Regions from separate parts of the Homo sapiens genome. Here regions 2, 3, 4, 5, 6 and 7 are each linked to region 1. The links are contacts of gene promoters, found by promoter capture Hi-C in blood cells and fetal thymus (Javierre and others, 2016). All regions are on one chromosome and are shown on one strand. The core of a region is centred on a gene start or on the middle of the fragment in contact, and the rest is flanking DNA. Distances in the headings are between cores, read along the strand shown.

The links. Contacts are between HindIII fragments. The CHiCAGO score rates a contact against its expected background, and 5 or more counts as called.
Region 2: a contact is called between a fragment that was not itself captured here and the fragment with the promoter of FAHD2A in region 1, in 1 of 17 cell types (total CD4 T cells). The highest score is 5.4, in total CD4 T cells.
Region 3: a contact is called between a fragment that was not itself captured here and the fragment with the promoter of FAHD2A in region 1, in 1 of 17 cell types (M0 macrophages). The highest score is 6.8, in M0 macrophages.
Region 4: a fragment that was not itself captured here is called in contact with the fragment with the promoter of FAHD2A in region 1 in 5 of 17 cell types (M2 macrophages, M1 macrophages, M0 macrophages and 2 more); the score reaches 19.5 in M2 macrophages.
Region 5: a fragment that was not itself captured here is called in contact with the fragment with the promoter of FAHD2A in region 1 in 7 of 17 cell types (M0 macrophages, M2 macrophages, M1 macrophages and 4 more); the score reaches 13.6 in M0 macrophages.
Region 6: a contact is called between a fragment that was not itself captured here and the fragment with the promoter of FAHD2A in region 1, in 4 of 17 cell types (M0 macrophages, M1 macrophages, M2 macrophages and 1 more). The highest score is 9.5, in M0 macrophages.
Region 7: a fragment that was not itself captured here is called in contact with the fragment with the promoter of FAHD2A in region 1 in 2 of 17 cell types (M2 macrophages and endothelial precursors); the score reaches 5.4 in M2 macrophages.

Annotation. Positions count from the first base shown.
Region 1 is chr2:95,400,316-95,404,506 of GRCh38, forward strand. FAHD2A (fumarylacetoacetate hydrolase domain containing 2A) reads left to right here and starts at 2,393. Exons shown (of 8, transcript NM_016044.3): 1 at 2,393-2,557. RefSeq lists enhancers at 1,163-2,102, 2,032-2,111, 2,103-3,041, 3,182-3,301. The HindIII fragment of the contact is 5,947 bases long and covers 1-3,335 here.
Region 2 is chr2:95,007,991-95,012,181 of GRCh38, forward strand. MAL-AS1 (MAL antisense RNA 1) reads right to left here. Exons shown (of 8, transcript XR_007087136.1): 7 at 1-4,191. Among named protein-coding and RNA genes, the nearest start is that of MAL, 16 kb to the right of the region's middle. The HindIII fragment of the contact is 4,346 bases long and covers 1-4,191 here.
Region 3 is chr2:95,760,356-95,764,546 of GRCh38, forward strand. No RefSeq gene overlaps it. Among named protein-coding and RNA genes, the nearest start is that of LINC00342, 65 kb to the right of the region's middle. RefSeq lists an enhancer at 1,654-2,568. The HindIII fragment of the contact is 2,546 bases long and covers 1,144-3,689 here.
Region 4 is chr2:95,740,656-95,744,846 of GRCh38, forward strand. No RefSeq gene overlaps it. Among named protein-coding and RNA genes, the nearest start is that of LINC00342, 84 kb to the right of the region's middle. The HindIII fragment of the contact is 3,708 bases long and covers 423-4,130 here.
Region 5 is chr2:95,721,323-95,725,513 of GRCh38, forward strand. No RefSeq gene overlaps it. Among named protein-coding and RNA genes, the nearest start is that of LINC00342, 100 kb to the right of the region's middle. The HindIII fragment of the contact is 7,546 bases long and covers 1-4,191 here.
Region 6 is chr2:95,696,335-95,700,525 of GRCh38, forward strand. No RefSeq gene overlaps it. Among named protein-coding and RNA genes, the nearest start is that of TRIM43, 110 kb to the left of the region's middle. The HindIII fragment of the contact is 2,968 bases long and covers 443-3,410 here.
Region 7 is chr2:95,665,304-95,669,494 of GRCh38, forward strand. LOC101926959 (a long non-coding RNA gene) reads left to right here and starts at 247. Exons shown (of 2, transcript XR_007087142.1): 1 at 247-1,121; 2 at 2,614-3,421. The HindIII fragment of the contact is 796 bases long and covers 1,874-2,669 here.

The DNA.
Region 1 (4,191 bases), core at 1,143-3,642:
CAGCCTGTTCTCAGGAGGGAACCTCAGGAGGGCTGCGGGTTGGCACAAGCTGTGGGTGGGCCAAAGCTCAAGGGCTTGGAAAAGGAGAGAATCTGAACCAAGGTTTGGTTACAGGCTTTTGTTCTTATTGATCTGTGGGACAAGCAGCCCAGCTAATCATTTATGAGGCCAAGAATGGGAATTTAGAGGGTCTGTGTCTGGCCTGGTCACAGATAAACAAGGGAGCATCTGGGAGTCTTATCCAGGTTATATAGAAAGTCACTGGTTCTTTCCAGTAGGGGGTTTTCTGGAACAAAAGAGTGGTGGGATTCCTTAACCTTCACTATTTCTAGAAGCAAAGGGCTAAGGTAAAATTCAATACTGTCAATAGTCAGGATTGAAATGGCTACATCATATGGTAGGTGTATGTTTAATTCTCTTCATACACTGACAAATGGTTTTCGATCGTGGTGGTACTATTTTATAATCCCATCAGCAGTGTACAAGAATCCCAGGTCCTCCACATTCTTGCCAGTACTTGGTATAATCAGTCTTCTTTGTCCATTCTAGTAGGTGTGAGATGGTGTCACATTGCGCTTGCAATTTGCATATCCTTAATGATTAATGATGTTGAGCATCTTTTCATGTCCTAATTTTTTCTTTCTTTTTTTTTTTGAGACAGAGTCTTGCTTTGTCGCCCAGGCTGGAGTGCAGTGGCACGATCTCGGCTCACTGCAAGCTCCACCTCCCGGGTTCCCGCCACTCTTCTGCCTCAGCCTCCCCAGTAGCTAGGACTACAGGCGCCCACCACCACGCTCGGCTAATTTTTTGTATTTTTAGTAGAGATGGGGTTTAACTGTGTTAGCCAGGATGGTCTCGATCTCCTGACCTTGTGATCCGCCTGCCTCGGCCTCCCAAAATGCTGGGATTGCAGGCGTGAGCCACTGCGCCCAGCCTTCATGTCCCAATTTTCTGTCTGTATATCTTATTTGATGAAATGTCAGTTCAAATATTTTGTCCATCTAAAAAATTGAATTGTTTGATTTTATCTACTGACTTTTAAGCATTCTTTCTATATTCTGGATACAAGTCTTTTTATCAAATATAGCCTTTACAGATATTTTCTTCCAGGCTGTAACTTAGCTTTTCAGAAAGTCTTTGGGAGCTATGGCTTAGTGAAACCCTTGTGCCAGGTTCTCCTCAGCGAATCCCCCTGATCACAGCCACCCCCATAGGTTCCATTTCAATATCTGTGGTGACCTTCTGCAAGCTAGGCTGAAGTCCCAAGCTCCAGACCCATGTCTCCAACTGCCCACCGTTCAATGCCCTTTGGATGTCCCATGCAAATCGGAGCTCACCATCCTCTCCCCAGACCCGCTGCTCCTCCAGGAGCCCTGTCTCCATGAACGGCCCTGCACCTACCGAGCTAGAGACCCAGGAGTTGGCCTTGTACCTCCTTCCTTCTCACTTCCACCTCCTGTCATTCAGAGCTGTCAGTTCTTCCTCCTGAACATCTCTGGACACTCACCTTCTCCACCACGCACCGCACCACCATTGTTCTCAACCGCACCACCCACCCAGACACCTTTCCTCAGACGGGTGGCCAGAGAAAAACTTCTCAAATAGAAGTCGGGACATGGCACGCCACTGAGAACCTTCCAGCGGTCTCCTGTGCACGTAAACAAGGTCCAGACTCCTTCGTGGGACAAGTAAAGCTCTTGATGATCTGGTCCTTGAGTAATGTGGGGGCCACTTGTACAGAGCCCCTCACACTGTTCAAAGTCGGCAGCTGAAGAGCTGAGCAGTAGCTGTCTGTGGAGTTCAGCTGCCACTCCCTACACGCCTGCCCTCTGCAGGGGATGGAGTCCCGTTTCCCCACTTCCCCACCTGCGCCCAGCAGTGCAGGTGAAGGCCTGGCTGCGGAGAGTGGCTGGGAAACGCTGCGCTTTGGGGTCAGGAATGCCAGCTCCACTACTCACCGCCTGTGTCACCCTGGGAAAACAGCTCTGGCCCCAGGTTCTCCATAAGTAAAACGGGGGCAGTCATCCCTCCCCTCCTCAACGACATATGTCAGAATCAGAAGCCACAAATCATTCTCTGCCACCCAGCACGCTGCCTTGGTCTCCTAGACCACTTTCCCCAACAATGGGAAAGGCGCCAGGCCCAGAACAAGGCCGAGACCGGATGAGGCCAGCGAAGCGCCCAGGGACAAACCTTCGGGCAGCGCCCACTCTCGAGTTCAGGCAAGTGCAGGGTCCCTCCGAGAGAGAGCGTCTCCAGAGAACGCGGCTGGCGCCTGGCTGAACCCGTAGCCTGAAGACCCGCCGGAGCCGCCCGCCCCACGATGGGCCCGCCCCTCCGGGATTGGCGCCCTGCTAGTGGCCATTGCCTGTGACGTCACAGGATCGCGCCCGCTTTTCTCTCGGGTGATCCGGCCGAGTGGCCCTGGGTTAGCAGCTGCTGCATTTCCCCGGCTGGCTGCGGTCACTGGTGGCAGTGCTCAGGCGCCCGCCGCCCTTGACCTTCGGCCCCGCGAGCTCTAACCCTACAGCGCAGGAAGATCGGCCGCCGCGGCCAGGTAGGACGAGCCTGGCTGGGTCTAGGCCAGAAGGGTGTCCGTGGCGCCGGTCTCCCGCGGAGCGCAGAACTAGTACCGGATCCCCAGCCGCTTCTGACCACACAGACGGGGCGGACCTGTGTGAGCACTCACTAACTGTCGGGGCTGGAGCTGGGCATATGGGGAAACTGGGGGACCGGCACGGGTTCCAGGCGAGTGGACGGTGGGATGGAATCCGACGTGCACACCCATGTCTCAGGCTTTGTTTGATGGAGGCTACTGTTTCCACCTCATGTCGCCGCCCCTTTGCTTATGGACTCTTGCAGAGTTGGATTGAGCTCGGGCTGTGTGATATAGTGGTTGTTGCAGAAGCCCCAGGGCCACTTTCTGACTAGTACCTTGGGCACCTGACATCATCCCTTTGAGTCTCAGTGTCCTCTTCTTTAAAGTGAGGGCGCTCTACCTGAGGAGATTGCTGTAAGGTTGGAATGAACCTGCATGTGTGTGTCATGTGGGAAGGGAACAGTCAGTGGGGCCTGGGGTTCTCTTGGAGAGCTGGTAACCAGCCTCGTCCCTGAGGCAACAGCCAGAGGGCGCCTGTAGTTTCCCCACGCATGTCTGTTAGCAGTTACGGCCTCTGGAGGATCTCCTGTGGGAGGTCCCTACTTCTCACTACAATCTTTAGAGACTTTGGAGGATTTCCTATGGAAGGTCCCCACTTCTCACCACAACATTCTGGGTTAAAATGGCCTTGGTAGGGGGATGGGGGCTGAAGCTGGATTTTTTTGCTTGCATTACAAGCTTCTGAACCAAGGACTTCATGTCACCTGGACTTGGATTCACATCCCAGCTCCTTCCTCTCCTAGCTCTAGGACTGTGTAACCTTGGGCAAATCTCTTAACCTCTTTAAGCCTTAATTGTTTCATCTGTAAAATGAGGCTAACAGTACCTACCTTCCACAATTGTCGAGAATTAAATCAGACATTGTAGGTAGAGCACTTAATAGTTGGCATTCAGCGGCAGCAGTTACTGTTATGTTAGCATGTGGAGTGTCTGAGTGTGTGCACATTGGCTCGAACAGCCTTTTGACAGTGGCACAGTTGGTGCTTGTGTAAGACAGCAGGGCAGAGAAGTCAAAGCCCTCGGTTTTCTAGTCAAACTGGTGGGCCACAACAGTGGTGACCTAAGTCTAATGAATCTTCAACTGAACAAGGCAGATTGAATCTCCAGGTGAGGACCAAGAGTCTGGGGATCAGCTGCCTCCACATTTTTGGGCATAGAAGGCTGTACAATACCGCCTTTGTTGTAAGAGCAAGGAACCATTCAGGGAAGGCACCATGTGGTAAGGAATAGAGGCCAGACGTGGATTAAGAACAAAACAAGAGAATAGTGTTTGTCTTTAAGTGGAGCCTTGGACTCAAAACAGGATCTGAGCCCTGAGGATTTTTTTTTTTTTAATTGAGATGGAGTCTTCGTCTGTCACCCAGGCTGGAGTGCAGTGGCGCGATCTCAGCTCACTGCAACCTCCTTCCCCTGGGTTCAAGCGATTCTCGTGTCTCAGCCTCCCTAGTAGCTGGGATTACAGGTGGCTGCCACCACACTCGGCGAGTTTTTTGTATTTTTAGTGGAAACGGGGTTTCACCACGTTGGCCAGG
Region 2 (4,191 bases), core at 837-3,336, 390 kb before region 1:
TCACATGCCTGATGTCACAGGGCTGTGGCTGTGGTCATGCACATGGAGACAGCTCCGCTCTCAGCAGGCGCTCTTGTCTCTGTCACAGAACATTTTCATTCTGGCACAGCTGTGCACCTGCTCAGTAATGTCTCCTGTGCCCTCAGAGGGTCAAGTTGAGAACCCGCTCCTCAGCTTCCAGTTAGTTGTATCTGGCCCTCCTCCTTGGTCGCTGTAGAGGTCTGCTCCTCCCTGAAATGCGGAGCCTCTTGTCTCTGTCTGTCTACACCAAACTCTCCGTGTAAGCATCTACTGCACACAGGCAAAGCAAAAGGGGTCCCTCCCTTTCATGTGTATATGTGTATAGAGTGTAATTGAACATCTTTCCATCTTATTGTAGGTACACATTGTAGTGTGTCCCCATGACAAATCCCAGAATCCCTACAAGGCAGGTGTAATGAAACCCCCGCTCAGCTTGGCTTAAGGCCACCCGTTTCTGTTACAGTCACTTAAAGAGCAGTGAGGGGAGCAGGCTCTGGCCAGCAGCCCTTGACAAGCTCTGGATGCCCTGCTCTCCATGGGCCCAGCCTGTGCACTGACCCTGTCTCTGAGTCACCATGGCCCAGGGAGGGTTAGAATAAAGTAGAGAATTATTAAATAAACCAAACCCAAAATAATAATATTTCATGTAAGTTTGCACATAGTTTACAAATTCTAGGTGTTTCATCAAGTTTAAAAGAAATTAGCCCTAATGGAGTAAATATTCACCTTTTTTGCTTCTAATTTAAAATATGTCATCAGCTGAGCTTTGTGATTTTTACTTAAAATGTCCTAAATTTATAAGCAGTATAGAAGACTTGAGAGAACTCAAAATACACCATATTTCTAGATTTAATCTATTGGATTCATAAGTTGTTTAAATATTCAGGAATATTTTAAATAATTCTAATAATTAGAATACTTACAGGAAAAACAGAAACTATTACATTTATAAATACAATTCTAAAGGTTTAAGGGAATTTAATCCTTAAGAAATTATTAAGAAATAAAGTTGTCCTTAAAATGATTGCCAAAAATGTTAGACAAAATATGTACAATTTTCAAAATATACACGTACAATTTTACAATTTGCTGGCTGAAATTAAATGCCTGAGTAAAAACTGGGTTTTTGAATGTGTGGGTTTAATGAGTGAGATATTAACTCTATAAAGCAGAGTAACCTCTGGTTAACCTTTCCTGTAACAAAAACTTTCTTCAAGGACAACAAAAGGTGCCATGAAGGAGGCCTCCTTTCCAGGGCCGGTCAGAGGAAGCCAGAGTGACCCTAAAGCCCACAGCACTGTGGGCAAAGAAGTGGAATAAAGAATAAAAAGAATAACCATAACTTAAAGAGGGCAAGTCTAGTCAAGGTAACACCTGCCTACCCAAGGGGTCACAATCTTTATATATTGCTCCAAAGTTTCATTATCTGGGCAATAATTTCAAAATTCATCACGTATCCCATTATTATATAAATCTACTCTTCAATTCTTTGTAAGGTTGAACCCTGCTCAGCGCAGGGACGTTTTGCTGTGGGGCTGTGCAGCCTCAGCAGCTGGGCCCTTGCTGGCCAGTCCCTTCCATGGCCCTGCAAGGCGACCTGGCAGTGTGTTCACATAATTATGTGTTGTGTAAATTTCACAGACTGTGAGTATATCAATAACAAGTTTAAAAATGGAATTGCTGAGACCCAGAGGCAACTGAGCTGGTTTGGGGCAGAATCAAACACTGTAGTTAAGACCCTGGACTCTGGGCGGGGCACCATGGCTCACACCTGTAATCTGAGCACTTTGGGAAGCAGAAGCAGGAGGATCACGAGCTCAGGAGTTTGAGACCAGACAGGGCAACAACTGGCAAAACCCCATTTCTACAAAAAAAATGCAAAAAACATTAGCCGGCTATGGGAGGTCGAGGCTGCACTGAGCCATGATCGCCACTGCACTGCAGCCTCAGCGGCATAGTGAGACCCTGCCTCAAAAACAAAAACAAAAAAAGACGGTGAACTCTGGAGCCCAAAAGTGCAAATCCCTCCTCTGCCATTTTCTAACCGTTGTGATTCTAGGCAAGTTTTTCCATCTCTCTGTACCTCTGGTTCCTTATCCTTACAGTGGGCATGCCAGCATGACTGCCCTGGTAGAGCTGATAGGAGCTCATCTACAGCAAGACTTGGCCCAGGGACTGCTGTACAAAGACCTGAGAGCTCTGAGTGCTGCTGCCGCCACTTCCCAGTGGAAATCGGGGGTGTGGGCTCTCTCCTTGGGTCTTAGTCAACTCACGCTGCCGTAACCAAATACCACAGGCTGGGTGGCTGAAACAACAGACATTTATGTCTCCCAGGTCTGGGGGCTGGAAGCCCGGAGGCTGGGTGGGAAGGCGGCTGGGGCAGCTTATGCAGAGAGAGGAGAGACAGGAGGCCCTCCCAGGGGTAACGAATGCTGAGGCCGTCGTTTAGTAGCCACTCATATGGGGTGGGCTCAGGACAGGAAAGCCTCCCTTAACCCCTCAACCACCCCACGGGGAAGTACCACCAGGATGCCTGCTTCACCCATGAGCATGAAAGAACTTGCCACAGTCTCCAGATGGTAGAGGGCTCTGGTGTTCATGCCATGTGATCCAGCACCCAGTAGGCCTCATGGAGCTCACTGAGGGCCCATTCCTCAGGCCCTGTTAAACACCACTCCCTCCGCCTCGAGGAGGCCATTAAAACAGTTTTCCTTTCTAATGCTGCTGGAGCCTGCAGAGCTGCAGGAGTGGGGGCCTCGCCTTTCCCTCCTCTCCACTCCATCAGTCCTGCCTTGGGTTCCCTGGGCTCTAGGCCTGGCAGTCTGCTGTGAACAGAGGTCTAGAGGTCCCTGGTGACCAGCAGTCCAGCCCAGCGCAGGCTGGCAGTGACCTGCCCTACTCCAGCTGCAGAGCGATGAAAGCCCAGATTACATTCCAGGGTCTCTCACTAGGCCATAAAGCCTACAGCCCATTGGCAGCCCTGCCCCTCACACACTGCCGCCTGTGTGCCTCCAGCTCCAGCACTTGGAGCTGTGACGGCGAGAGGCCTTCTGTGCCTTGGGCTCTGCAGTGGGCAGATGACGGGACGCGGTCATCTGTGACTTTCTCTAAGACCTCGGGCTTGACTCCATGCTGCCATCATTCATTATTAGCTCCATCCTCTTCTTTGCCTCCAGTCTATAGAGAGAGATTTTTTTTTTTTTTTTGAGACAGAGTCTTTCTCTGACGCCCAAGCTGGAGTGCAGTGGCGCAATCTCGGCTCACTGCAAGCTCCGCCTCCCGGGTTCACGCCATTCTCTCGCCTCAGCCTCCTGAGTAGCTGGGACTACAGGCACCCGCCGCCACGCCTGGCTAATTTTTTGTATTTTTAGTAGAGACGGGGTTTCACCATGTTAGCCAGGATGGTCTCGATCTCCTGACCTCGTGATCCACCCGCCTCGGCCTCCCAAAGTGCTGGGATTACAGGCGTGAGCCACTGCCAAAATTTTTAAAGGCCCAGAGGCGGGTCATGCAGAGGGGCTGGCATCGGTAGTCAAGAGCTGCTTTGTGCCAGGCACCAGGCACCTCCTTCTCAACTCTTGTGATCCCAATTTACAGATGAGGGGACTGAGGCTCAGAGAAGCAGTAACAGCCCAGCCTGCCACTGAGGCAACTGCTCAAAGCATTGGATACACGGGATGGTGGCCAGAGGGAAGAGCAGGCTCTGCATTGAAGAAGGAACCTGGGTTCAAATCAGGCTCCACTATTTCTTTGCTGTGTGGGCTTAGGAAAGTCACTTAGCCTCTCTGAGCATCACTTCCTTTGTTTATAAGGAAGGTTGTAAGGTTTAGAGATCACGAGTAAAAAGCCTTTGGCAGTTAATACATGTTCAATAAGTGGCCATGCCCATCCTGTAATCCTCAGAAGGGCAGGTGGGGCTTAGAGGACAGAAGTGGCCTTCAGATGACTCTATCCACCAACCAGAAGCCTGACAAAGAGCTCCTTGTACTAGCAACCTTGCGTGTAAGTCATTGGTTGCAAGGAAGAGCCCCCAAGCCCCAACAAGCTCACAGGTAAGTTATCATTGGCCATGAGATAGGCTGCCATCCTTTAGAGGGGCTCCCTACCTTCAGGTGCAGTGGCTCATGGTGGCCCAGGTCACGGGTACCAGCACCTTGTTCTCTTGGTCAT
Region 3 (4,191 bases), core at 1,167-3,666, 360 kb after region 1:
TCCCAGATAGAAAGTGATGGGTCTTCTGGATAGAAAGGCAGTGGCCTGGCTGAGGCAGGGCTGGGGATGATAGTAGTTGGGCTCTGGGGAGACTTTGGTGATAGATGGGCTCGATGTCAGGGAAGGTGGCCTGGGAGGAGGTGGTAGGGGATGGGCTGAGTGTTATGGGCACAGGGGACAGAGTTCAACCATGTGAGCCTGACTCTCTTCTGCCTCCATCCAGGTGGGAGACTCTCTTTGGGTTTGAAAAGTCCCAGTCTGAAATGTGCTGTTTCCCCTGTGCCCTGCCAGGGCCCAGTGTGTTGCGTTCTGGGGACACTGGGTATTGGTGAGAATGAATCAGGGAGCCATAGTCAGGGGGCTCAGTGCAGGGCAGGGGTGAAAGGAGAACTGCAAGCAAGGGGGCCTGGGAGTAGGGCATTTATTCGCTATTTGTGGGGGCCATCTCAGAGGGGGTTCCTGGGGGCTGGGGTGGCCTGCTATAGTGCTCAGTCCTCTCAGCAAGTCTGCAGCAAGAAGCTGCTGGAAGCTGTAATATTCACAGCTGCAGGATGGGCAATCAGCTCTGCTCCCATCTATAGGCCTAGATGTGAGGGCAGAGGAGCACTCAGCCTGCCGAAGGTCTGCTCAGCTGGGCAGCAGCGGGCAAGATTGGAATTCACTCATCATGCAGCTACTGGGTGCCTGGCTACTGCTGGGAAGCAAGCTGAGGGCAAAGACTGCCCCATGGGGGCAAGAGTGGGGCCCAGGCACCCAGGGTACATTGCTGGGTACAGATAACCGTGGTTCAAGGAATGAGCTCCCTTCCCACCCGCCCCTCCCCAGCTGTCCCTGAGTCACAGGCACCCTTCCCTTTCACTGTCAGGGAGGCTCTGGAGCTGCTTCCTATCCCCCACTGTCCTGTGAGTCACCTCCCCACCCTCCACGTCCCTCCCACATGGTGCAATCAGCATTCCCGCCTCTCTGCCCACGTAAGTGCTGTCAAAAGGCAGAGGCAATGGGTGGTGGGTGGTCAGGCGGGCAGTGCCTCTCACCTCCCAGTTCGTCTGTCTTCTGTCAAGTGGGGCTGCGGCAGGGCTGAGAAGACTGTGTTCAAAGCATCCGGAAGGCCTTGGGTTGTCAAGGGCCCCAGGCAGCACATGAAGCTTTGAAAGGTGCCCCTGCCTTGTGCCTGGGCAGGCTCCTTCCCTGCTCTGGGACCCCATCTTGAGCAGACTCTGGAACCCACATTTCCACCATTAAAGTGCATTCCTCCAGCCACTCTGGGTCTCTATTAGAGCCCCTTTGAGATGAAGAGACCTGGGTGGGGAGCATGCGGGGCAGGGGCCCATCTTCAGTGCTCTGGCATGGGTTCATTCCTCAGGCTGCTCCTGCAGCCACCCCTAGCTGAGGACAATGCCCAGATCCACAGTGGCCTGAGAAGTGCTCCCAGCAGAGTGAGCAGAGCTGGGCTTCGGTGCTGTCTGCCTTCTGTCCTGCTGCAAGGCTAATCACCTTCTGTTTCTGGGCCTTGAATCCCTTTTACAGCATGGGGGCTGGATGCTCTTTGAGCTTCCTCCTGGCTTCAATCCTGAATACCGACACCTACTTGTTTGCAGTTGTGTGACTTGGTCAAATCGTGTAACCTCTTGAGCCTCAATTTTATTCTGTGTGAATGAAACAGACAGTGAAAGCCCTGAAGATTAGATTTTTAGATTTTTGATAGAAGAATTGTAACAGCAGTGACCCCATAGCCCTTTACCATTTGCAAGGTGCTTCAGACAAAATATCTCGCTGGTCCCTCCCAACAATTCCGCCACAAAAGGTGGTATTACTTTCATCCCCAGCTTACAGTTTGAGGAACGAAGGCCCAGCTATGGGGGCAGGTGCAGAGGTGGGCCTCGCTTCCCGGTCTCAGTCTCTGGATGAAGGGCAAGATCCCTGCAGCTAAGGACGAGGGAGTGGTGGCACAGAAGGTCCGGCCTGCTGGTCTTTCTTTCCCAGCCTGGGGCATCTCTGTGAAGGCCGATGAGTGGCGGCCCCTCCCCAGGTGCTGGTGCCAGGCAGCGGGGAGCTGCTTCTGACAGCTGTGCAGACAATCATCACTTCTCCATCGCTGCTAATAGCAAGGTTAGCTTGCCGACTCCTCTGTTTGCCGGGTGCCTCCCACGGACCCAGAGCTTGGAGTTTCTTCATTGCCTGGGGTGGGGCAGGGTGGCAGAGGGGCATCTCTGCTCCCTGGCCCTGGCTGCAGCCAGCAGCTCCACCCAGGGCCCTGAACTTGGGAGGCGACTGCAGTTCCATGCCTTGGCTCCCAGCACCCCAGGGAAGTACATCTGGGCTCTGGAACAGCAGAAACGGCCTCCTGCAAATCTCCTACCCGACACAGGACCAAGTGTGGGAATGCTCTGGTCCAAGGGGCTTTCTCCAACTCTCTGGACCACAGGGAGCCGGCAGGATGGGGGACAGTCCACCTTCAGATTACACCTTTACCTCTGACTCAGACCCCTTTGCCTCCCAGGCCACCATACGACGTCTCCTGCTTGCAGATCTGGCCATGCTGGAGGCAAAATGGATCCCCAGCCCCTCAGTTGTGACCCTTCCTAGCTTGTTAAGTTAGTAGAAAACTCAGCTCACAATCTCGGGGACTGCTCCTCCCCTGGTTCATCCACAAACCCCAAAGGTTCATGGGATTCCTAAAAGCAGCCTGACAAATTTCCCTCCTGTGGGGAGAAGACCCTGTGGTCTGGCAGGACCCACTGCCCTTGGCTAGGTGCCCCTTGCTTTGATCCTGGGTCTGGCTCCTGCCTTAGGAGCCTGCAGACCTCTGTGGGGCCACTCCCTGGTGACCCACCCAGCCCAGGAAGGATGGACCCCGCAGTGGACAACACTCGGTTCTGTCCATCTCCCTGCCTTGGGGAAGTACTTGCTTGTAGTTTTAATTTACCTTTGACCCTATGGTGCACTTCTGGAATGTTCCCTCCATGAGGGTGGGGACTTGGTCTTGTTCACGGGGATCTCTCTGGCACCTGGAGCAGCTGCGTAGCCCAGGGTGCTCAGTCATCGTCTGCTGCCCGAACAGATATGTGCAAGTTTGTCTTCTCACTGCTGTTAACATTATTGTATGAGTAATTTTACAAGTTTACCATTTTTCTTGTAAGTATAATAAATATCCCACCTTATTGACCCACAGTTCCCCCTCCCAAAACTTGCAAAGTATTTTGGCTGACTTGACTTGTTTACTATGATAAATAATGTTGCTATAAACAGCTGTGCACATATAGCTATTTTTCCCTTTGCAATTATGTTTTTGGGAGGAATTCCAAACAGTGGGGTTAGCGGGTCAAAGGGCATGGCGTATTTATGGTCCTGGATGTGCTGGGACTGCCGAATTCTCAGCCCCCAGGCCACCCCTGTTTTCCCTGAGGTCTAGCTCTGGGTGAACACCCACAAAAGTGTCTGTCTGCCCGAGGCTACCCTGGCCTCTGTCTGGCTCCTGCGGTCATGGAGCAGACCTCATGGCGCGGGAGCTGAAGGTGGCCATGGGAGTTTGAGGAGGGGAAGAGGAGGCAGCTGTGGGAGTTGTGGAGATGGCTTCACGGAGCCAGGAGCCCTGTTCCGGGAGGGCAGTAGGACCCCTCTTCTCCCAGAGCCCTGGCCTTCTCTTGGATGGCTCTCCTGTCCTGGAGCCATCCCACCCCCTGCAGCTAAGCTTCCACCCCCAGTCTCTGAGAGGGGGCAGTGCCCCCTGTAGGCAGGTGTCTTTGGGAGAAGGGAGGGGACCCAGTGCCTCAGCCTACTCCGGACTTTCTCCTGTGGGCCCTGACGTGGTGTCATGTGGGGGAGAAGTGCCGTGGAAGCTAGCTGCTGAGCAAAAGGTCTTTATCACTGCAGAAAATGTGCCTGAGATTTGCCCGCCTTCTGCCTCCATCCACTGGCTCTGCCCCTCCTCTGCTGCTGGAGCCCCCTTTCCCCACCATTAGCCCCAGACCTGCAGGCCTGGATGGTTGAAGGGGAGGGGTCCACACTGGCCCCTCATGGGATCTTCCGGAACCTGGCTCCTACTGGAGGGCAGGGTATCCAGGGTGGCCCCTCCCTAAGTAAATCTTCCCATCCTGGGAAGACCTATTCTCTGTCTGGCGATGCCTGCATTTTATGGGGACCCCAAGGCTTTCCCCTGCCATGGGGTAGTGTCTTGGAGGTGGGGCCTGC
Region 4 (4,191 bases), core at 1,027-3,526, 340 kb after region 1:
CTTTTGGTTGGTGCATTTTTCTAGTCTGTTTTGACGCCAAGGCAATAAATTTTTCTTTTGGATTTTGTGTTTTTTAGCTGTAGAATTTTCATTTAATTTTTAATTTTAATTTTTATAATTACTATTTATCTTGATTTTTCTCCATGTGTTGTTCACTTATAGTCACTCTTTCCTTTAAATTTCTGAACATGCACACTTATGATGCTATTTTAAAATCCTTGTTTGCTAATTCCAATATCATGTCTGGGTCTGTTTCTACTGACTCTATTTACTCTTGGTTATGGGCTAGATTTGCCTGCTTCTTCAAGTATCTAATAATTTTATATTGTGTCCTGGCCACTGTGGAGGCTATGTTTCTGAGAGTCTGGACTTTATTGCTTTCTTTTAAGGAGTCATGGATTTTACTGATTTATTGGTGGATAAGCTTGATCTTACTGAGTGTTTGTTTTAGACTTTATTAAGCTCAGTCTAGAGTTTCCCTTATTCTACCGCTAGAGAAATCCTATTCTTAAGTCATGGCCTTTATTGGGATCTAAACTGAATGCTGAGGGTGTTCAGCAACATCTTTTCACTCTACATGGTCAGAACTCCAAATTCTTTCAGTACATGTGATCTCTGGAATCTGTTCAGCTCTATACCCCACCCTCCCCATGACTGTTCTCTGCTAGGCTTTAGTATTTCGTCAAAGATTTAAGATAACCCATGTCCAGCGGATTACAAGCCTGCATTGTCTGTTATCCAATATCTGAAAAACAGATACTTTATATATTTTGTTTAGTTTTTATAATAGACCACAGTAAGAGGGTACTCTTACTCTTACTCTTACACAGTAAAAGGGTACTTTTATTCTCTCATGCTTGGAACCAGAGGTGTCTCACTTCTAAAACTCTTTTGTGAAGCTGGTGCCATGGTGCTAGCCAAATTCCCAAGAATAACAGTGCCTCCTTCTTTGAGATTCCCAGCGGGATCTGTTTTCTTGCATTAATTTAGATAAACCAATTATTACCCTTGGTTTACACCAATAGGAACAGGTAATGTGAGAGTTCTGCCCTACTGTCTGTCAGTCTGACAATAACTAGGAGACTATTCCACTCTGGGCACCACACTTTTAGTGAGACATAGGCCACCCAGAGCTCAACCAGAGGAGAATGGCTAGAATGTTACAGGTAATCCATTTTGTTGTGGATCAGTAAATAGAACTGGGGATATTTAGACTAATTTCTTTAACCTTAGTCTTTGTTTTACGAATCATTGTGATTGCTACCAGACTTTATTCTGTCAGCAAAATATTTTTAGGGATGACTATTCTCTTCCTTGCTATTTCTAATGTATGTATTATTTAATGATATGTATTTAACTATGTAGCTTCTCAATTTTTGTCCAGAAAATTACAAATTCCTTTTCAGTTTTTTTCCATTTTATGTTATCCTCTTTGAGCTCTTTGTTTTGTGAGTTAAATTCTTATTAATTTACTCTATAGCATAAAATAATTGTGAATAATTTCTTCCAATTCTTTGTGGCATTATCACCAAGGCTGACTTGTCCATTGAACACAGTAGGCCCAGTGCCTAAGACCCACAGTACTTTCAGGGGCCCAGGAAAGTGTTTTAATTTTTATTTCTTTTAAAGGCAAAAAATAAAGATAACAATATTAATCTATAATATTAAGTTCATATTGGATTATATTAAATAACGAAAATGAGGTCACAAAATATTGTGTTTACGGAAGAAGAAGCTCACATAGACAAAAGTTCCTAGAAGCCACAAAAGTCATAGCATGACCCTGATTATCATCCATAACAAAATTAACATGAATTCCTTGGTATCATTTATTACCTTTCTCATAATTGAATTTTCCCAACTATATGAACATTATTGTTTTATAGTTGACTTGTGAGCCCAGGATCCAAATAAAGGGTAACACATGAAATCTGATTGTCATGACCCTTGAGTCTCTCATCTAAACTGGCCCCTCTGCCCTCTTAGCTTGACGCCACTAACCTGTTGCAGATATTAGGCTAATTGTCCTAACCAGATTGGTTGTCCTACCACTTAGGACTTTGTGTATTTGCTTCTTTGTGGTGTCACTTACTCTCTTTCTTTATTTCCTATATTTCTTGTAATGGAAGCTAGTTCTACAGGCTTAATGAATCCATGTGTAACTTCTGCGGCAAGGACGTTTTACAGAAAATGAGGTGTGCTTCATGCCTGTTCACAACGGAGGCTTCCAATGTCTGTTAACTCCAATTTTATTGGTGCTAAGGTTTATTGCATTCAGGTAGTCATAGATTATTTAATACATGAATATTGCTGCCTGAACATTTTTTATTAGGTTCTGAAATTGGTGACTTTTTAACTTCATTCTTGTCACAGCGGTTTTCCTCGTCACAACTATTTTGTTCTTTACAGTTCACACATAAAAGTTTGGATAAATGCTTATTTTCTCCCCTAAAATGCCAGTTTTTATATTAAGTAGCTCGTATACTTGTTGATTCTATTGGTATTCAATGGATTATTTCCTTTTCCTGCTGTAAACCTCACAGGTAACCACAATCTCATGGCAATGAGTTGCCCATAACTGGCATGTGGTCCTCTTAACCCTGGTCTCCAATGAAAGGAAACAGGGTTCCTTAAAGGATAAGGAATCAAGTTTCCTTGAAAGAATGGCTGATTCTGGGTCTAGGGCAGGAAACATACAGATGATCCTGGAATATTTTCCATGCCAGAAAGCTAGGAAGTTATCAAAGAGTAATAGCTTGAGTCAAAAGGACATAGGGGCTCTTACTAGTCAGAAATAGATCAACAAGAACATAAAAAATAAAAACGATTAAAATAAATTGACTCAGGCCAGGCACAGTGGCTCATGCCTGTAATCCCAGCAATTTGGGAGGCCGAGGCAGGCAAATCACCTGAGGTCAGGAGTTCGAGACCAGCCTGGACAATATGGGGAAACCCCATCTCCACTAAAAATACAAAAATTAGCTGGGTGTGGTGGCAGGAGACTGTAATCCCAGCTACTTGGGAGGCTGAGGCAGGAGAATCACTCAAACCCAGCAGACGGAGGTTGTAGTGAGCCACGATCATGCCATTACACTCTAGCCTGGGTGACAGAGCAAGACTCTGTCTCAAACAAACAAACAAACAAACAAAAACAACAAAAAACCCCATAACCCAACAAAAAAACAAAAAACAAAGAAACAAAAAGAAACAGAAAAACAAAAACAAATTAACTCTATGGGATCTCTGAGCTCACTGCTCACTGTAGAGAAGGAAGGAGGGAAGAAGAAAGACAGAGAGAGATAGAGACACACACAGAGACAGAAAAAGACAGAGACACACAAAGAGAGAGAGAGAGAAAAAAATATACGTGCATATGCAATTATGCATGTTTTTAGACAACACCAAATTTCCCTTCCATAAGAGTTGCACCATTTTGTATTCCTTCCGGGAATGTATAAGAATTCCCGTTATCAAACAGGCTCACCATCTGAATAAATTATTGAATTTAATAGCTGAGAAGTGGCATCTTGGTATAGTTATAGGGAAGAACTGACAGAACTACAAGGAGGAACAGATGAATCCATTACTAAAGTTGAAGACTTCAACACTCATTGATCAGAAATTGGCAGACCAAGCAGGCAGAATATCAATAAGAACATAGTCGAACTCAACAACACCATCAATCAACTGGATATGATGAACCTGTACAAACTACTTCATCCAATAACAGAAAATTACACATTCTTCTCAAGCTGGCATGGAACATTCACCAAGATACCACATTTTGGGACACGAAACACACCTTAACAAATTTAAAGAATATATGTCATATACTGTGTGCTCTCAGACCACAACAGAATTAAACTACAAATCAATAAAATAAAGACAGCTGGAAATCATCAAAATACCCGGAGACTGAACAATACTCTTTTAAGTAATATCTGGGCCAAAGAAGAAATCTAAGGAAATTAAACAAGATTTTGAACTAATGAAAATGAAAAGACAACTAATCAAAATGTGTGGGATGTAGCAAAAACAGTGATTAGAGGGAAATTTATAACATTGAATGAATTAAAGTGATTCTTAGATTCTATATTAGAAAAGAAGAAATGTCAAATATCAGTAATCTAAGCTTCCACTTAGGAAAGTAGAAAAAAGCACAAATTAAATCCAAAATAAACAGAAGAAAGT
Region 5 (4,191 bases), core at 596-3,095, 320 kb after region 1:
GGCTGGAGTGCAGTGTTGTGATCATAGCTCCCTGTAACCTAGAACTCCTAGGCTCAAAGAGATTCTCCCACCTCAGCTTTGAGTAGCTAAGACTACAGGTGCATGCCACCACACCTGCCAATTTCTTAAAAAGTTTTATTGTAGAGATGAAATCTCGCCATGTTGCCCAGGCTGGTGTCAAACTCCTGGCATCAAACCATCCTCCCACCTGACCTCCCAAAGTGCTGGGATTACAGGTGTGAGCCACTGCACCAGGCCTCATGTGTCTTCTCAAATCCTCCTTTATTTCTTAATTTCTTCTTCCCATATTACACTGCTTCTTAGAAACAAAATTCTAAAATCTCACAGCTGGAAGTAGCTGTAGTCATTATTTAGGCCAGTGGTTCTCAAAGCGTTGTCCCTGGGTCAGCAGCATGAGCCCCATTTGGGAATTTGTTAGAATCAGTCTTAGGCCCCACCTCTGACCTGCTGAGTGTGAAATTATGGTGGTGGTGGAGTGGGGGCAGTTGTGTTTTACCAAAGCCCTCCAGATGGTCCTGATGCACATCCAAATTTGAGAACCACTGATCCGGGCCAAGATCCTAATTTCAAACAGAGGCCCTTGAGCAGAAAGGTGATGTTCTTTGTCACACACAGGGTGACACCGTCACCTGCAGGGCCCGAATGAGAAGCCAGTCTCCCGGCTCCTGTCATGATCCACTCCCTCTGCTGACCTGTCTACAGAGCAGTTTCACTGGCCTGCATCTCACTCCCATGCAGAGGCGCAGAGGACAAACCAGACGGGCAGCTCGTGTCCGCAAGATGGCAGGTGCCCGTGCTGCTGGCCGCCCGAATGTTACAGGCTTTGGAAAGTGCATCCTCTGAGGACACACGATTTCTGAAAAGCAGAATACACCCTCCCACCTGCCCCCCGCACTTCCTTTGGTCTTTTTTCTTCAGACATATCTGCGACTGAACATGTTCAACGTCTCCCCTGCACCAAGCAGATGAATGAGCCTCCTGACAGGCTGTGTGCTCTCTCTAGCATGTTATCTTGGGTTACGGAAATTGGGCAGATCTCCCCTTCTTTAGTTCCTCCCCACACTTGGAGTCCATAAAAGGCAGGGATATGGGCAACTTGATCCTGGACGTCAGCATTCTTGGGATGGTGTTGAATACAATAAAACATGCTTATTAAATGTCAACACTGGGCATGCATAAGTGGATATTTACTGAGTGGCTACCACATGCCAGATGTGCTATCAGGCCTTGCTTCCACCCTCAAGGTTTAGTGGTCAGTGAGTCCCCAGGGCCACACTCCAGCCCATTTCCGCTGCCAGAATGCCATGCCTCCATCTCATGTCACCCCTCCCATTTCTCTTCCCTTCTCTCGATGGCCCCATGTGCCTTGTGGTCCTGATGGGATGCAGAGAAGCACTCACCCCAGGGGGCCTGACTCCCCAGAACAAGAAGGCAAAGTCACTTGCTGAAAAGGGAGGCGAGGGTGCAACCAGGTGCTCCAGAGGCCTGGAGAAGGTTCTGGGCTCCAGGACAGGGAATGTGCTTAAAATGAATATGAGATGGTTAAGACTCTGCTCAGCTGGAGAGAGAGACAGCAAAGGCTGATGGGGACCTTCAGCCTGACCTGAGGTTTTGCCACAGACTTGGTGGAACTTTGAGAGGCAGGGGCTGCAGTAGGTTAGTGAGGATGGTGGAGGGGCCTGACTTCTGCACGCAGGCTGGATGAGACTCATGCCCAGTGGACTGGGTGAGGGGAAGCCCAGAGAGATTGGGGACCCTGGGGAGACCAGAGAGGCAGAGGTGTTTTTCAGGGATCTGGGGAGGTGAAAACCATAGTGGTGGGAGTGAGGCAGCTCCCAGTGTGAGGATGCTAGACAGACATCATCCCAGGGATTAAAGTTGGTCAGAAACAATAAGTGTAGTAGCAATGTTTACTGAGCCCAGGCCCCAGGATAACTGCTTAGCATGCATTTTCATATTTAACCCCCACAACAGTTTTCCCAGGACCTGTAATGTGTCAGGTACCATCAAGGTCATGTCACATTCCTGTGTCCTTTAGTTGGCCTCTCCACACCCCAGATCAGGAACCTGAGGAATAGAAATGCTTCATGAATTGCCAGGGATCCTCGGCTAGCAGGGAGCTGAGCTGGTCCTAGATCCTAGGTCTTCCCACTTGAAACTCACAACTCTTTTGCAAATGTCTCAGTTGGTTCTTTCTACTCAGAGAAGCTAGTGAGAGTGACATCCAGAACAACCTAAGGTAAGATGCCACCAGGGGCTCAAATATCTGGTGCCCCCTGAAGCCTGGGCTGGAGAAAGGGAAGAAAGAAGTGGGGAGCTGTGACAGGTCTCAGAATGTACCAGGCAGCACTCTGGCACCTCAACATGTGGCATCATGGAAAGCTCATAAGATTTGTGCTCAGAAACTCTGTGCTGCTCTTATTAATGAGAGGCCTCCCGAAGAGCTTAGTGTGTACTGGTGGATAAGAATGCATGCTGAGGTTAACTCTCAGAGCTGCCAGGAAAACCAAAGGAGAGAGTGGCTGCGAGAGTGTGTCACAAAGCTCACTTGGAGTGATGGGACTTCTATTCATTTATTTGACAGGTGTCTATGAGCACCTGTCATGTCATCATACAGATACTTGGGGCCTCAGCCATGACGAGTGTCTAGCTCCCAGCAACATTACAGTCATAACCAAAGAGTGGTGAGTGCCACATCTCATAACTCCCCCAGGTCATTTGTAACTTTTGAGGTCACTCTCTTCTTTTAGTCCTAATACAAGCTGCAGTCCCTGACCTTTGGCCCTTACGTAAGTTGGTCCATAAATGCTGTCTTAATGCTTTTATTGAGTAGATTTCACCTGGGGGTAGAACTATAGCCCAGAGGAAAGGTCCTAGACAGGTGGGCTTTTTCTGCAGCCCAGACCCTCTTGAAGTAGCTTGGGGTCAAGATTGGAGCCTCCTTGCCTTTGCCGCTTAAACCCATAGACTTAGGGCTCCTTCTAGGGGAAACTTCACCTCTGTTCCTGGTTGTAAGACTTCCCTTGAAGCACTACATCTGAGTACAGAAGTACTACATCTGAGGTAGATGAATACTGGGGAGGAGAATGGTGAAATCTTGCCCAAGTTGGCAATTTCAGGGAAGTAGAAGAGAGTGACTTTCTCAGTAGGCATGCTCTTAACTAGTTCTAAGTAATGATTTGGAATGTTTTCATGTTTTACCTAGCTCAGTTTGGTCTTTGGTTTGGATCTTTCTTGTCCTCTGATTTCCAGAAAAGAATGTCCATTCTGGTCTCAGCTCCTCCTCCTTAGGTCATTTGGATCACTCACTGAGCTCCCAGGCAGAAAGAGAGTGGAACTTGAGTTGGACCTGCCATGAACTGTGTGACCTTGAGCAAGACCCTTGACTGCTTGAACCTGAGTTTATTGAACCTGTGAAATGGGAATAAAATTATTCACCCAGTTTAGGTCAGGATCAAACTACCATCACCACCACCATCACCACCACCACCACCACCACCACCATCACCACCATCACCACCACTATTAACCCTTTTAACCGAGTGAGCATTTATTGTGTCCAATGTTGTGCTATGAAGTTTACGTGAATTATCCTATTTAATCCTTACAACGATTCTATGATATAGATGTTAGCAGCACTCTGAGTTTGCAGGTAAGGAAATAGAAAATGCCAATATAATTTGCCCAAAGCCATGCAGTTAGAAAGTGATGGGACAGAAATTTGAACACAGGCAGACTGACTCCAGGGTCTGAACTCTTCAGCCTCTGCTGCAACTTAGGAAGCAGGTCTTGCCTGGTTCCTCATCACTGTTGAAACTTCTCTTTCTCTTTTCTCGCTGTCTTCCTTCCACTTGGATAACTGGATTCACCTTTCATTAACCTGGATTCAAAGAAGCAAGAAGGCATCTCTTCCATGCACTGACTAACTTCTTTGCAAGCATGCTGCTTTCATCTTTTGTTTTCCTAAAGATGCCTGCAGAACTACATCCAACATGGCTGATACGTGGACCTTTGCATATCAAATAGCTTGGGAGGGTCATGACTGGAAGAAGAGGAGACGGTGGCTTGTGGAATGAACCCAGTTTGTGCACTTTCCCAGGGCATGGGGGAGGAAATGACAGTGACTTGTTGCTTGGGAAATGCTGATGGGTGGCCTGGTATCTTGGGAAT
Region 6 (4,191 bases), core at 677-3,176, 300 kb after region 1:
CTCCATCTAGGAGAGTGTTCCAGGGGCTCCCTTCTGGCCCAGCTGGGACACCTAGTTATTCCAATTAGCAGCGATACCTAGGCAGAACTTTCCTGAGGACCGAATCTGCCAAGAGTTAGTCCAACACATCCACTACCACCACAAAGCTCAGGACCACCTTCCCACCCCACTATGGCTGAATAAACCATACTCCTGGGGCAAGACATGCTCCCAGATCCCTGCACTGAATTATCTCATCAGGCAAGACCTCCACTATTTTGGGAAATAGTTACTGTCTTCTGTCTTACTCAACAGGGCACACTAAGGACCCAGAAGGGAGAGAACATTTACTTTAATTAGTATGGACTATAATGCAGAGAACCTGTAGCCATGAATCAAGTGTATTCATACCAGAGTGGATGTGTCTGAGAGAAGGCAAAGATCTCCTTTTTTGGACTCATGAAGCTTCATGAAGTGTCTTCTCTTGGTCACTTATCTATGGGCCAGGTGAATGTGCCATATTGGATCCTTGTCATAACACCTCCACTGCCCATAATATCTTCTCCCTTTTCTTTCCTTTGTTTCTTTTCTGTATCCCTTCCTCCTTTCCTCCCTTTCCTTCTGTACCTTCCCTCTCTCCTTCCTTCTTCCTATACACCTCACACGCAGCTGGGTACTAAAGGGATGAGGGATGGGTAAGACATTGTCCTTGCCCTTGAAGGGCAAGCACATCATATGGTGGGGAAGGCAGATGTGTACACAATTAACTATAATAAAATATGGTGAGCAATATAATGGAGATCTGCCCAAAGTGTCCTGGGAGCACGGAGGAGGGAGCAAAGAAGCTGCCTTAGAGGTCATCAGGAAAAGCTCCACTGAGAAGGTGATTTCTGAGCTGCCTTTTGAAGACCAAATAGGAATGTCCAGGTGTGTAAGAATGGGAAGGGCTTTCCAGGCAGGGAAACTGTGAAAATAGTGCATGGCATATAGTCTGATTTGGCCAGTGATAGAGTAAGGAATGCAGGAACATTTGAACAGGTAGCTCAGGATCAGTATGGGCTGGGGTCTGAGTGTCATGCTTAGGAACTGCATTTTGTTCAGTATATGATGGAGAGCCACACACAGAATTTTTCTTTGGGCAACACTTCTTGACTGGCAAGGCTCACACGGCAATACTCAAGGTGGGCAGTGAACTTTGTGTGTAACTGTGTTTAATCAACCAACGCATCGAGTTTTTATTAATGGCCAGTGTTTGCAAGGTTCTATGTTAGCTACAGTGAGACTGCAAAAGACGCATTATGATTCGTATACTATAGGAGGTCAGATTCATCCTCACTTAGAAAAAGTTAAGGGTAAGGAAGGGGAGTACAGTACAAGATTGTGTGGTTGAAGGGCTGAGCGAAGATAGCAGACAGCAGAGGAGTCTGAGTAGGTCTCCTGGAGGAGGGGGTCTGAAGGATTAGCAAGAGGCCATTCTTCATAGGGAAGCCACATGGGCAAAGACTTGCATGGAATGTGTTTGGACAGTGAGGAATCTGGCCTGCCTGGACATACACTGGGATGCTGGGAAAAAAGAGGAATACAGAGGGATGGCCAGATGAAGGAAGTTCTTGAAGCGAGGTGCAGCATCACAGTACCTCTGGGTGGGGAGGAACTTTAAAACCCTTCTAGAAAAACTATGTATGCCTCACCAGTCCTACATGTGGGTTTCCTCTGTAATATCCCTATATGTGATCATCAGTCTTTGTTGGGAAATATTTCAAGATGGGAAAGATCATTTCACCTTTAAATGCCTCTGTTGGAAAGTCCTGTGGAGCCTAGCTCATGGTTTCTGCTGTTCACTGATTTCAGATATCTCTCTGTGTGTCATCAGCATCTCTCCCTGTTTGCTGCAGAGCAGTTCTTCTGATTTTCTAAACAAGCTCAGCAACTTTTTAACTTCCCCTTTTCCAGGTTGGAAACTCAGTTTCTCCAACTGTTGTTCCACAGGTTCAGCTGGTGAAAGCGCTCCCTTTGATTCTCCTTTGAAGCAGGATCTGCTCAGGGCTGTGTAGTCTGGACACAGTTCAGTGGGTGGTGACTAGCCTCTGTAAAATGACGCGTTTTAAATGGTATTTTGTGAAAATGAGGTTGGGCTCAGAGTTCAGGATAGACTGGGATGATTCAACTGCAGGAAGGTAAAATTTGGGGGACCTTGGCAGGAGTTTAGGCCTAGGACTTGGATCGGGGTGATGGGGGTCAGGGGATAAGTAGGAAAGATGGAAGCCACAGGTCATTTCAAAATTTTAATAAAAGAAAAGCGAGACAATGATGACTTTAAGTTTTCTAATCTGAAAGCCATGGCAATAGCATGGGCAGAAGTGGGGTGGTGGGGAAGGGAGCTGACTGGGGAACGGTTCTGAATTTGCTGCTAGAGGAGGCTGTGGACATACTCTGGGAGCCCAGGTTCATGGTTAGATTGGAAACATGGGCTTTGGATTCATGAAAAACAGGGAACCTGTATAGGGAGTGAAAATATACAGAGGAGAGAGCCATCAAGAAAGACTCCTATAGGAAATCCTCAGCTCGCAGACTAGAAGAGCCCAAGACCCCCACAAAGGAGATAGGGACTCACAGAGTTTTCCGGAGAGCAGCATCGACAACGCCTAAGTAGAGGGCTTCCAAAAGGAGAGAGTGGTTAGTGATAGCAAACGCTCAGGAGGATAACGAAAGTGAGGCCACTGGGTTTACCTAGGGGGAAGTCAGTTTCTGCAGACTCAAGGGGGTCAAAGCGACCCTGGTGGAGATTCAGAAGGGACTGTGTGTCTGGATACTCCTTCCCAACACCCCCACCGCAGGAGAGCTACATTTTCCCCTCTCCCCTCAGCCCACTGGTCCCTCCCATTGTCTATCTTCTTGCCTTCACTCCCAGTTCCTCAGTGCTGACCACCAGTTGGTGGTCTCCTTGGTGGCATGGCCGAATCACTTTTCCCCAGGGGGGAAGGTGGGGTATTCTCTCAGCAGGGTGCAGCTCCTCAGGGGAGGCCAGGCCCACCCAGGCTGGCCAGCCCACTGTGAGAGCAGCCTGCACTGACAATGCATCTGCCTGGCATGTGCATGAGAACCAAGGTGCTGCTGTGGCAATGACAGCCTCACAGGCCCCTAAGGTTGGAGCTGAACTAGGGAAATATATTTTACTTGACATCTGAATGCTATGGTTCCCAGGGGTCAGAGGGCGAGTTGGGAGAAGCTCCACCCCTCCCTCTCCCTGGCCAGCCCTTTCCCTACAGGGAAACCCCAACACCCTGGTGCATCCTATGAACTCCCTGTTTCTATCTCCCTCAGCACTGAGCAGTCTTCTTTCCCCTGGCCATCAGCTTCTTACTGCCCAGAAGCTCACTCTGGTCTACGCCAAGGGCAAATGTGTCTGCTAAAGTGAAGGGTGATTTCCAAGCTTCTTCGGCAGAGACCCCAGAATTCTAGTAATGAGGGAGACAGGTTATGCCAAGCCTGCTTCTCCCAGGATGCACTGGGAGCCTGGGAACCAGGAGGGAGGGAGGAGGCTCAGCTGAGGAGCTCAGGATTTAATTCTATGCATCATTAAGTAGTCCTCTGAAAGTAGTGTCCCCCTATACATCATCCATGCTTAGTAAACAGCACGCTGACATTACATTAGAGGCTGGAAATGAATTTTCTCTTTTATAGGGAAATTGAGAATCCACCAAGAAGAAAGAAAGAAAGAAGAAGAAAACCTCAAAACCAATTATCTAGGCATTTATGAGTTCCACCCTGGTCCCTCTCTCTCTCCTCTCTCACTCAGATGCAAAGAAGGATTTAATATTTAATACATTAAGAAAAGAAAGAAACTTTGATAGATTATGTGGAATCTGGCGTTAATTCTCTCTGCCCCTCCTTACTTCCTCATTCTCCCCTCCCAAAAACCCTTTGCCTGGGTCTAGCTGACATTTAAATGGATTAAGGTGTTCAGATTTCCTTAACAGTGTTGACATTTTGGAAATATTTCTGGCTTCTTTCCCCTCTCTCTCCTCTAAATAATAATAATAAATAAGTATTGGAATGGATCTTCCCCCTCCCACTGGAAGGCGGGCTCCAGCCCTGTCCTACTCTCTAGCGCTGAGGTGATTTACATTTTCCCTTCTTATTTACAAGATTAAGGACAAAGAGAAGTCAAAGTCCTCCTTGGGAGATAGTGGGCTGAGTGTGGGAGCGGGG
Region 7 (4,191 bases), core at 1,022-3,521, 260 kb after region 1:
AATCCACCATCCCAGAAAGTTCTCTTGTGGGCGTGGGATTTTCGAAGCTCTCCAGGCGATTCTATGGTGCAGCGGACTCTGAGCATCATGGAGGCTCACTCAACAATCTCTGCTTTAGAATCTCAGAGAGGTTGTCCAGGACAGCACTTCTCACACTTTAGCATGCATCTCCTTGGATCTGGCTGAATGCCCATTCCATCCCAGAGTGGGGCCCGGAACCCTGCATTCCTAACAAGCCCAAACCACACTTTGAGGCTCTGCTACAAGTCTCTCATTTTGGAGGTGAAGGAAACGGAGGCTGAGAGTGTTGATGTGAGTGGCTTGCAAATCCTGATTCTGAAGCTCCTGGACTAATGACAATCATATCCCTTGCCCTTCAATCTCTTTTTCGACAGCCACCCTAACCCAGAATCCTAAACAAGAGGCGTAGCCATGATAGGATCTCTCTCCTATTTCCCTTCTGAGTGTTGTCCATTGCTTCTAGCCTATTCCCATCTTTCTTGTCCTGACCCAAGTCACCTTCCTGGGGAAGGGCCCCCTCCTCTGCCTGTTTCTGTACCAGCACCTACCTTTTCCCTATCAACAGCTCGCTTTCCTGGTTCATTCCATTCCTTAATATGTATCAACTCAATTTAATAAGCAAGTGTTTATTTAGCAATAGAACTGGGTCAGACCCTATCGTGCCCTTGAGGAGGAAGGCAAACTAGAAGCTGTGATTAAGTTAACAGATAAGACAAATAAATAACAGGATATATAAGGTGAGGAGAGACCTTAGTGACTGCCCAGCTCAGTTCCTCATTTTATAAGTAATGTTTAAGAGCAATGACCCACTCCTACTTTCAGCAAAGAGGTGCACATAGCATAGACCCATAGAAGAGGAAGGATCTGAGAAGGAGTTTGAAAAAAGTGTAGGAGAGGCTGCGAGAAAACAAGGCAGGTGTCCTGGCTGAGGGCAGGAAGGAGACATTGCGATGGAAATTGTGCCCCATTTTCTTGGAGGATTGGGAAGAGGACCTGTGGACTGGGCGGCCCACACAACTGCTGTAACCTCAGGCAGTTTTCAAGCAGATTGACCTTCCTGCTGGAACACGGCACATGAGGTGAAGTTCTCCTCTACCCAGGTCTGTCCTTAGCACCTTATGCAGGGTTTAACCCCCATGGGCATAAACAGGGTGTGTATCTGGGGTGGTTTGGGGATTAGGTCCCATGAGCACTGGGACCTGAAGATGCTTGGTCTAGAGAAGGGACGGTGTTTGGTCTGGGAAACATGGGGGTCATGTTTAATATTATATAGACAGTCACATGGGATATTTAATTAGCAATGTGGAATTTAGAGAGAGGCAGGTTTCACTTCACCTTTGGGAAGTACTAGGTTCTAACACACCTCCCTCGCCTGGAAAGAGATTGAACTACCACAGATTGAATCCCTTGGGAGGAAGGAATTTCAGTCCCTGAATGTGGACAGCTGAGGCTGGATGAGAACAGAGAGATGTCAGATGTCCAAGCTTCTGTGTCCACTCCCTGAGAGTCCACTAGGGGAAGCCAGTCATCATGGTAGCCTCATGTTCATCTTCATGTCTGAGGTTCAGCCCCAGAGCAATTTCCCTGTGGCCATCTGGCCGGGAGACATGTTTCATTTCTCTCCCAGAGGAACAGGCACTTCATTTCCCTCCCAGAATAGATCCACATCCAGAAGAATGTAATGGAGACAGGCAAGAACACAGAAGATTGCATAGGTTTAGGAAAGAAGAAGGCAACAAGGTTCTGTTGGGTTGCATCTGAGGAATCTTAGGTACCTAAAAAAATAGGTCTGGAATTAAAATAAGATGTTAGTGTTGAAGGTATAGAAATGTGAGTTAAAATGATGGCATGAAGCTTATCTAGGGAGATCACGCAGCTCCAGATGATTGTGGACTGAATGTCTTGTAGGGTTTTGGGTAGGATGAAATGTGAGTGGAATTTGGCCATAATCAGCCCTTAGAGTTGGCTTGAGCCCTGCCCTGGCCAGCTGTGTGTCCTTGGGTATGCCAACGTGCTTTCCTTTTCTGCATAACGGTGAGATTGTCCACAAGATATTTAAGGTTCTTCTAGCTTAGACACTGTAGAATTTACATTTTAAGGTTTTCGGGATTCAATTCAAATTCCAATCCAGAAGCAGATATCAGGGCCGATCTGGACCACCTCAGGAGAATAGCAGGGTCAGTGTCCAGAGGGGCTGGTCATGATGGGAGGGTCTTGAGGAAGGGAGACAGAAGAGAAGGATAAATGTGACTTGAGGTGGGAAAGAAAAACTTGGACTGTCCTCAGTCCCTTCAGTCAAGCATTGCAGAAGCTGTGTCTGCCTGCCAATTGCCTGCCAGTCAGACTGAGAATGTCCCCACAGGACCTCACAGGGGTTGCCTGGTCCATGTTCCACAAAGCAGGAACAACTGCTGGTTAATTATGCAGACACAAGGTGAGGAGTGCAGCTGTCTCTGGAGTTAACTCTCAAGGAGCTGCAACTTTAACAGTTAGCTCCCAGCCAAATGTGGGGGACAGGCTTTTCATGGTCCTAGGAGAAATAGGTCTACTGGGCTTGTCCAACCCAAAGCCGGTTGCCTCTATCGCCCCCAGGGTTGCTTGGCCTTGCCTCCACCATGCCTGACACTGGCGCTCTGCTGGGAGGAAAAAGCTTGCTCTGTTGCTGGCTGTGTGGAACAGAGAGGGAAGTGGCAGACAGTCTGGGCCCAGCACTTGGGTATCGTGCTCTAGCCATGCGACTCATCTCTCCAGTTCAGACCTGCCCCTGGAAAAAAGAGCCCAGACCTCATCATGAATGCTTTCCTAGGAGAAAATGAACAGCTGGACAATGCTCCTGGTCAGTAGGCCTGAAGGATGCTGGGATGCAGCCCTCAAGATGGAACAGCCAGGATGCCAAGTATCCCTCTTGCCCAGATCCTAAGGCACTTTTTCTACTGATCCATATTGGCCTCAGGAGATGTCTCAACACAGCACCCCAGCCAATGGAGCTGCCACATAAGATGAACTCTTGATCATCTCTAAACTAGAGAGTTAAACTCAACACTAGCAAACGACTTTGGGTTTATGCATATGTCATGTTTTCTCTGGCAACTGCACAGAATCATCTCTAAATATCACATCTATGGTTGGCAGGAGTGGCATGTATAATACAAAATGTCTGGTGGCCCTACTGTCACAAAACCTGTATAAAAGTAAATTCACAAATGGCTTTTTAGAACTGATGACAAAAAGTTACTCGTTATCACTTTTCTAATTAATTTCCTAAAAGGGCAATTTGAAATCATACTGGGATTCTCACAATTTTGGTTGACAGTCAAGTAAATTGCAGCTACTTATCAAGCACTTTTGAATGAATACATGAAGAATGAATAAAATGAAAGCTCTCCTGTTGCCCTCAGCATCACCAGTGTTCTGTATTTCTTCCTGTAACCTTTCCATTGGTTTAAAAACCTTTCTCAAGTGAAAGCAATCTCTTTAAAAACTGCAACATACTGCTGATGAGTTTTTGCTGTGGAAACATTCTCTATGCCTGCAAACCAAATCACCCTCTCTCTTTTCCTGGGAAGCACATCTTTCTCAGAGCAGAGCTTTGCAAAAAGGGGAAACCAAAGCTTCCACGAGGTGATAGTTACAGCTGCTCTCTCTTCCTGTTGCCCCAGGTGCCAAGGTGCAGAGGGGCAAGGCGGCAAGGCCTAGCCTGGGCAGAACTTGTCTGTCGTTAACTTTGCAAACTGACTTTCTGAACAACTGTGGTTTATTTCACTTTGATGTATATCTACTCAACTACTCTCTAGTACGTTTTCCTTCCTAACTGTGTTTGCTGTGACTTATGGTAAGATCTGAGTGTAGTTCCTGAGATGCTCTATAGGGTCAACAATGGGGTGTGTTGTGATGCTTGATATAAATGCATAACCAGGCAGCACGTGGCATGGTGCACACTCAGACCTGCCTGTGAAGGCTTGGCATTTAGGTAAGCAGCATTCATACATCCTCCTGAAAAGAGCCACCAGTGTGGGCTTATTGTTGTCCAAGTGTACCAGGGACTCTAGGTGACCTTTGGTTTGCTAGTAATCCTGTCCCTTCCTTTTCTGCTTCCTGCTTGGGTTGCAAAGCCATCACTCCCCACCACCCCTGCCCCTGGCCCCCAACAGAGAGAAGGGTGGAGCTAGC